2 separate regions of the Homo sapiens genome follow, and region 1 is linked to region 2. Evidence: promoter capture Hi-C in 16 types of primary human blood cells and fetal thymus (Javierre and others, 2016). All regions are on one chromosome and are shown on one strand. The core of a region is centred on a gene start or on the middle of the fragment in contact, and the rest is flanking DNA. Distances in the headings are between cores, read along the strand shown.

What was found. Contacts are between HindIII fragments. The CHiCAGO score rates a contact against its expected background, and 5 or more counts as called.
Region 1: a contact is called between a fragment that was not itself captured here and the fragment with the promoter of POFUT4 in region 2, in 3 of 17 cell types (M0 macrophages, M1 macrophages and M2 macrophages). The highest score is 6.6, in M0 macrophages.

What each region holds. Positions count from the first base shown.
Region 1 is chr10:73,521,552-73,524,846 of GRCh38, reverse strand. It overlaps USP54 (ubiquitin specific peptidase 54), which reads left to right. Exons shown (of 24, transcript NM_001391956.1): 17 at 1,097-1,264. Among named protein-coding and RNA genes, the nearest start is that of PPP3CB, 27 kb to the right of the region's middle. The HindIII fragment of the contact is 663 bases long and covers 1,335-1,997 here.
Region 2 is chr10:73,770,625-73,774,259 of GRCh38, reverse strand. POFUT4 (protein O-fucosyltransferase 4) reads right to left here and starts at 1,984. Exons shown (of 3, transcript NM_173540.3): 1 at 1,219-1,984; 2 at 445-1,070. The coding sequence starts at 1,926. It overlaps SEC24C (SEC24 homolog C, COPII component), which reads right to left. Exons shown (of 23, transcript NM_198597.3): 22 at 3,462-3,551; 23 at 2,099-3,305. The coding sequence ends at 3,165. RefSeq lists enhancers at 673-722, 567-1,097, 1,383-1,492, 2,083-2,262 and a silencer at 1,703-1,752. The HindIII fragment of the contact is 15,546 bases long and covers 1-3,635 here.

The DNA.
Region 1 (3,295 bases), core at 417-2,916, 250 kb after region 2:
CTTTAATTTAGCTCCATTATTTCCCATTTGGTTTACCTTGGGCAAATTATTTATCCTCCTGTGACTCAGTTTCCTCATTCCTAAAATGGGGGTAATAGTATCTACCTCATAAGTTGTTGTTATGATTAAATGAAATAATACATGTAAACATGCTTAAAACTGTTTCTGGCACATAGTAAGTGCTGAACAAATGTTCAGCGTAATACTATTGTTGTGAAGCACTCCATAAATGTTGTTGTTGTTGTTGTTATTATTATTATTATTTTGAGACGAAGTCTTGCTCTTGTCTCCCAGGCTGGAGTGCAATGGCGCGATCTTGGCTCACTGCAACCTCCACCTCCCGGGTTAAAGTGATTCTCCTGCCTCAGCCTCCCGAGTAGCTGGGATAACAGGCGCCTGCCACCAAACCTGGCTAATTTTTGTATTTTTAGTAGAGACGGGGTTTCACCATGTTGGCCAGGCTGGTCTCAAACTCCTGACCTCAGGTGATCCTCCCGCCTTGGCCTCCCAGAGTGCTGGGATTACAGGCGTGAGTCACCATGCCCGGCCTGTTGTTATTATTATTATTATTCCTGGCCCAAGTGCCATCCGGAATCTAATTATGGAAAGCATTATCCAAAATATAAGCTCCAAATTGGGCCAGGCGCAGTGGCTCACACCTGTATGTAATCCCAGCACTTTGGGAGGCCAAGGTGGGTGGATCACGAGGTCAGGAGTTCGAGACCAGCCTGACCAACATGGTGAAACCCCGTCTCTACTAAAAACACAAAAATTAGCTGGGCTTGGTGGCATGTGCCTGTAGTCCCAGCTACTCAGGAAGCTGAGGCAGAAGAATCGCTTGAACCCGGGAGGCGGAGGTTGCAGTGAGCCAAGATTGCGCCATTGCACTCCAGCCTGGGAACACAGTGAGACTCCGTCTCAAAATAATAATAATAATAATAATAATAATAATAATAATAATAATAAATAATAAATAAATAAACTCCAAATTGAAAGCAAGAATTCCAAAAGGAAAGTATTGCAGTGGTCATAAATTCATCAAGTACTTAGTCTTGGTAATGGAAATGTGGTGACTTCTCCCTTGCTTATATTACAGGTGAGGAGATATCTTCTAAAAGTGAACTGGATGAATTGCAGGAAGAGGTGGCCAGGAGGGCGCAGGAACAGGAACTTCGAAGAAAACGGGAGAAGGAGTTAGAGGCAGCGAAAGGGTTTAACCCTCATCCTAGCCGCTTCATGGACTTGGATGAACTGCAGAATCAGGGTAATTGTTGTGAGCATTAGGTTGTGGGTGATGGGGACAGACAGAAAGGGTAGAAAAAAACATCTAAGCTTGTAAGTTCCCTGTCTTCTCTTTAGCAAAATAATTTTTTAAGTCTTAATTCACCCATTCCAGTGAGAACAAGTTAGAGTAGGATGTGACAAGACTATTGACTGGAGATAGGCACTGATTTGGGGCACATCTATTAAAAGCCTATAGATTAGAGATAGTATATCGTTCATGAATAATGTTTCCCATGAACATCTGTTGAAGGTGTAAATAAAACTAGCCTTGAGTCAGAAATAGCTGAAAATGGCAGTGAGCCACACTGACAGTGAGGGGAATTCTACTTGCTGGGAAGAAACATACCCATGAAATATTCCACCTGGAGCATCAGGGAAGTGGATCTGCCAAACAGGAGCAAGAACAAAGCCAGTTTACTTTTGATACCATGACAATTGATTCTGTAACCTCAAACAATTTGCATGGACTTTACTTCCACAACTGCCCCATGTTAGACTTTTTTTCTTCCTAGAATTTTTTTAGGATGTCACTTTGTACCAAAAGAGACTAGCCTTCAAAATAGTTCAGCCAAGCTGAAGTATCTACCTTAAATAGGCCATATATCTTAGTTTTTTTCCTATAAAATGACTTTATTGTTTTTATAATTCGGAAACCCCACTTACAACAAATTGTGCTAAAGCAGTATGAAGGTCCCAGTTTGTAAGTGCAAGCTTTTAACTTTGCTGGCTGTTTTCTGTTGACCACTTTTCTCTTTTTATATACACTTAGAGAATCTTCTTGGGCCAAGTAATCCTGTTTGGGGGCAGCTTTTTTCCTTTAATACTACTCTCTTTTGATTCAAGGTAATTGTTGCCTTATATTTCCCAAGACATTGTATTAGTTTCCAAATTAGTTTTAAATTCCTAATACTTAGCTGTCTCTATATTTGGATAGTCTTTTTTCCCTTTTTGACCTCAAGCTGTATCACATTGGTGTCCCAGGTTTATTTTGCTTCTGAAAAAAGGGGTCTTGTCATTTCTCTCCTTTTTTTCTCTCTCTGCCAGTTGGGCAATAGATTAAAGTTAGGAGGAGATCCCACTGGCAATATTTCATTGTCAGTTCTCTATACACTGTGGTTCAGCATTTCCTGCATGAGCAAGGAATGGAATGCTAAGATTCTGAAGGATAAGAATTAAAATTTAGTACAGTGATTGATCAACTATAGCTTGTCTAGATCTCCATAGAGTAGAGAACTTAAAAAAAATGGCTCTACGCCCTACCTCTGATTATAAAGGTTGTATACATTTAGTTGATTACAAATATTATGAGAGAACTTCAGGTCTGGGGAGTAAGGGAAACCACACCTCTAGAGATAGAGTGGATCCTGAGTGCCAAGTTCTTCAGAACCAACCTGCTGTTTCCATTGTCTTCCCATTGCTCTCAAAAAGTCATGATGAATTAGGAAGTGAATGTTAGGGATGTGGAAGAGCCTTTCTTACCATGTCCTGCTGGAGGTAAGTGGAGGATGAGGGACATTATGGGAGAAGTGACTCAGACATTTTTTTTTCCCTGCAACCTTGTGAAGGCTCACTGGCAATCCCATTTGTAGGTGAAATTACATTACAGCTTGCTGCCAATGTATGATTATGAGTAAGTAGAGGGCAAGGGATACATAAACATGAGAGTTCTTTTACAAAAATTTTTCTGCCTGTACTTCCTAGCCTTTTCATCCGGTATTGTTTTTAGACTCTTCTGCACCTGCTTTGGCACACATTCACTTTGAGAGGAGGATGGAATATTCCCTGCTTGCTGTATGGGAAGGTGACTTCTTTGGGGGTAGTTTTGGTGAGGAATAGCATGATGAAAGTAAATACTTAGCAACGCTTATGACAAGTATGTATATGCAAACCAGGAATGAAGGCAGTTCAACTGCCCTGGCAGATACATTGGATTAGGAAGTGTAGACCATCTGTGACCAAGAAGTGCACTGATTTTCCAGTTTAGGGTGGTGCATAGAGGACTGTGAATTGG
Region 2 (3,635 bases), core at 735-3,234:
TCTCTAAAAGTGCTCTTCTCTACTGCCCAACCCCATTTCCACTCTATAAAAGGTGCTCAAATAGCTGAGTTGATTTTTAGTGCAGTGCAAACTCCTGAACCTGGTATTAATGATATTTATAGCCTTGTCCCTATTTATTTGCCCCATTTTCTCTCTCCCCTGTCTGCACAGGCCCTGTACTCTGGTTCAATCTTTTTGAACCACTACTGGAAACATTGTTCACATAAGCTGATTTTCATACGTTGCCTTGAATTATATTTTACATCTATTCAGCTTTTTCAGCTTGTCTTATCCCCCCAACTAGACTGTTGACACCTTAAATACAGAATGAGCCCATGTGATAATTTCCTCCTGCACCTGCTCAGCACCTAGTGCTACTTAATTGCCCACAGTAAGCAAGTAAGTAAATGATTTGATAGCTGCAGGGGACCCCAGCACTCTTACCTGTCATTCTCAGGAATCTCTTCCACATTGCCAAAGCCAGGTGTGGGCACTGGGCAGTCCATGTGTGAGGGCTGGGCAATGTGGGGCTCAAAGACGGGGCTGTCCCCGGGAGAGGCCGCGTGGGCTTTCTCGGCATCCAGCCGAGCCAGTTCGTAGTCACAGACGAAACACTCGAAGCCGTTGAGGTAGTTAGGCAGCAAAGGATCATTCACTCCCCACTCCCGATGCTTCAGACTATCCAGAAGAAATTGGTTGGTGATGCCCCCAGGTTGCTTGTATGCCAGGTATTTCATATACTCCTCATCATTCTTGTCCAGAAAGTCAATAAACTCTGCCAGCTTCTGAGGAGACTCAAAATCATCAATCAGGATGACGGAGTGATTGTTCGGCATCCAGTCCCTCACAGAGGGAGAACCGCGGTACACGGGCACAGCGCCCAGGTGCATGGGACGCCACAGTTTTTCTGTCATGTAGTCGTTACAGATGGCATTTTCCAGGGCCAAGTGGAACTTATAGCGGGACAAGAAAGCCAAGAGCTCTGGATCCTCGGTGGTGGCCGTGGCTGTGTCCTGTAGCCGCGCGGTAGGCAGCTCCCGATTCTGCAGGCATTTCCCGTAGGAGTCTACCTAGACCGGGTACAGTAAGGCTGTCATGAGGGTGCGGCCCTGGAGGCCTGGACACCTGGAGTCCTGGACACCTGGAGTCCTGGACACCTGGAGTCCTGGCCTCAACCCGCCCTCTCCTTTTCCTTCCCTCCGGCCCGCCCTCACTCACCGGGATGTGGCGCATGAGCTCGCGCACGTAGCGGTCCCGGTCCGCTGGCACGTCGCAGTGTGACTGCAGATAGAGCAGCGGCGCGTAGCCGCGGCGGCGCCACTCCGCGCGTTCCATGGGCGGAGGCACCGGGCGGCGCAGATAGGCGGTCCCGGGCAGCCACTGCAGCGACAGCGGGTAATCCGAGTGGCGACTGAAGGTGGAGGTAAGATTGAAGAGGCGGATGCCCGGGCCGTGGCTCAGCAAGAAGTTGTTGAGGGGCGACTCCTCGTGGAGGAGCGCCCAGCTCTGGTGCGCCAGGCGCGGCAGCGGGGCGGCCGACGCGCGGAAGTCTGTGCCGTAGAAGAGCAGCGCGCGCGTCCGCGAGTCCCTCAGCGCTCGGCGGTTCCGGGACGCCACGCACGCGCCGCGCGCACACTCGATGCGCTCCGAGTCTCCCGGGAAGTGGGGGAATAGCCCTGGGCTCCACCACAGCAGTACCGGCAAGTCCCCCGCCTCCTCCCTCCCTGGCCGCGGCGTCCCAGAGCTGCGCGTCACCCCCACTGCGCCCAGCGCCGAGGGCGGCCGGAAAACCGCGCCATCCCACGGTTCCGCCCACTCCGCCTCCCCGCCGGCCTCCCTCTCCGCTACGGACCCATGGCCGCTGGCTGCACAGACACTGAGCACCCCTAGAAGGACCAACACCACCCTAATGGGGCCGGCCGCCATGTCCACTCCGGCAGCCGGCGCCCCCTCGGCCAGCACCGACCCCGCCCAGCGGATAGTCGTGACCGGACGAGGCCCTACGCCACGGGGGCACGTGGCGCATGCGCAGCTCGCTCAGCCGACGGCCAGGACTAAAAGCAAAGTGAGCTTTCGGGAGTAAAGATGAGGCTAATGGTTACATCTTAATTTATTTTATTTCTTTACAAATTAAAGATGCATTGAAAAATAAACCAATGAAGAGAAATGAGAGGTCCAGAGCAGGGGCATCCCAGGTGGGGAGCAGGCAAGCCTGGCCACCATCAAGCCTAGCCCTTGTCCTGCCCCCAAGCCAGTTGGGGTTGGAAGATAACTGTCAGCCACTCAGTCAATACCAAAGCCCAAGCGGTGTCCCAGCAGGAGAGAACGGCGCTCCAGCTGCCTCTGCCTCTCTCCCCAACAACCCCGGGCCTGGAGAAGCAGTGTTTCTCGTGGGAGCTCAGAGTGGGATGTGAACTGGCTCTGTGAGGTATTGCAAGTTGATGACCAGGCTCCCTAGGCTCCCTACAGAACCATCCAGTGTTGGGGCCTCTCCAGCTGGAAAGGAAGCTGGTACCTCTACCAGATCTTAATATATTTTGCAACTCAGTTCTCCGGTCACCTCTGACAGTGTGCCTCTCTATCCACGGAGTGATCATCAATCATTGCAGGAGAGAGCGAGCGAGCAGTGAAAGCAGAGAAACTTGACTGCTAACCTCCAGGCCCAAGAAGGACTGACCACTTTTCTCTCCACCACCTATGGGCTATACCCCAGCTCTTGTGCACCTATATGTTTTATCCCTAATATAGGAAGTTGTGGATGACACTGAGCCCCCTGTAGTAACCTTAGGATCCCCACTCTTTCCTGCCTGCCCCTCTCCTCTTGGGAGACTGGTCCAAAGGGACACATAATATTGCCAGGGTCTGGGTGCCTCCAAACCCCCAATACCGAATCATATACAGTGAACTGAGAAGCTACATTCATTATGACAGGATTAGCAGGAAAAAGAGGGTAGAATGAGGGAACAGGGGCACCTTCCATCAGCAGGACATGACAGAGTGGCAGGATACTTGAGCCCAGAAAGAAGGTGTCTCCTTATATCTCCCCCTCCCCCCAGAGAGACTGAGGTCAGCTTACATAAGATATGTTACTGTCCCAATTTCTCTGACATCCTGGGGTGCTTTCTGGAAGCTAGCCTGGGCCCTATGCCATTTACCCACTTGCTTTAGCTCAGTAGCTGCCGAATCTCCTTGTGCATATGACAGAGAAAGTCCACATAAGATGCTCCCCCACTCAGACTCTTGTCTTCCACCAGGAAGTGCTTGAACAGCATCTCCATCTTGTCTTCCTGTTTCACCACGGTAAGCTACGGCCAGAATTCAGGGTTCATAAGGCAAGGCCAAAGGAAATTAAACATGCCCAGAAATCTCATTAGGCAGTCACTTACTCATTCCCCACCCAACCCCCACTTCTAGGTGAGGACTTGACAAGGTAAGAAATCCAGGGTTCAGATCAGTGTTACCTTCATGTACCGGGATCTCTGTGCCCGTAAGCTATCAATGAGGCCTCGAACCTTCTTGGACAGTGGATTATCCAGAACTGGCAGAACACTCTAGAACACAAAATTCATTTATCCTTATGGTAAGGCACTCTGAGTTCAGTCAAGGTGGGGCAGCATACATGTATGCATCATCTG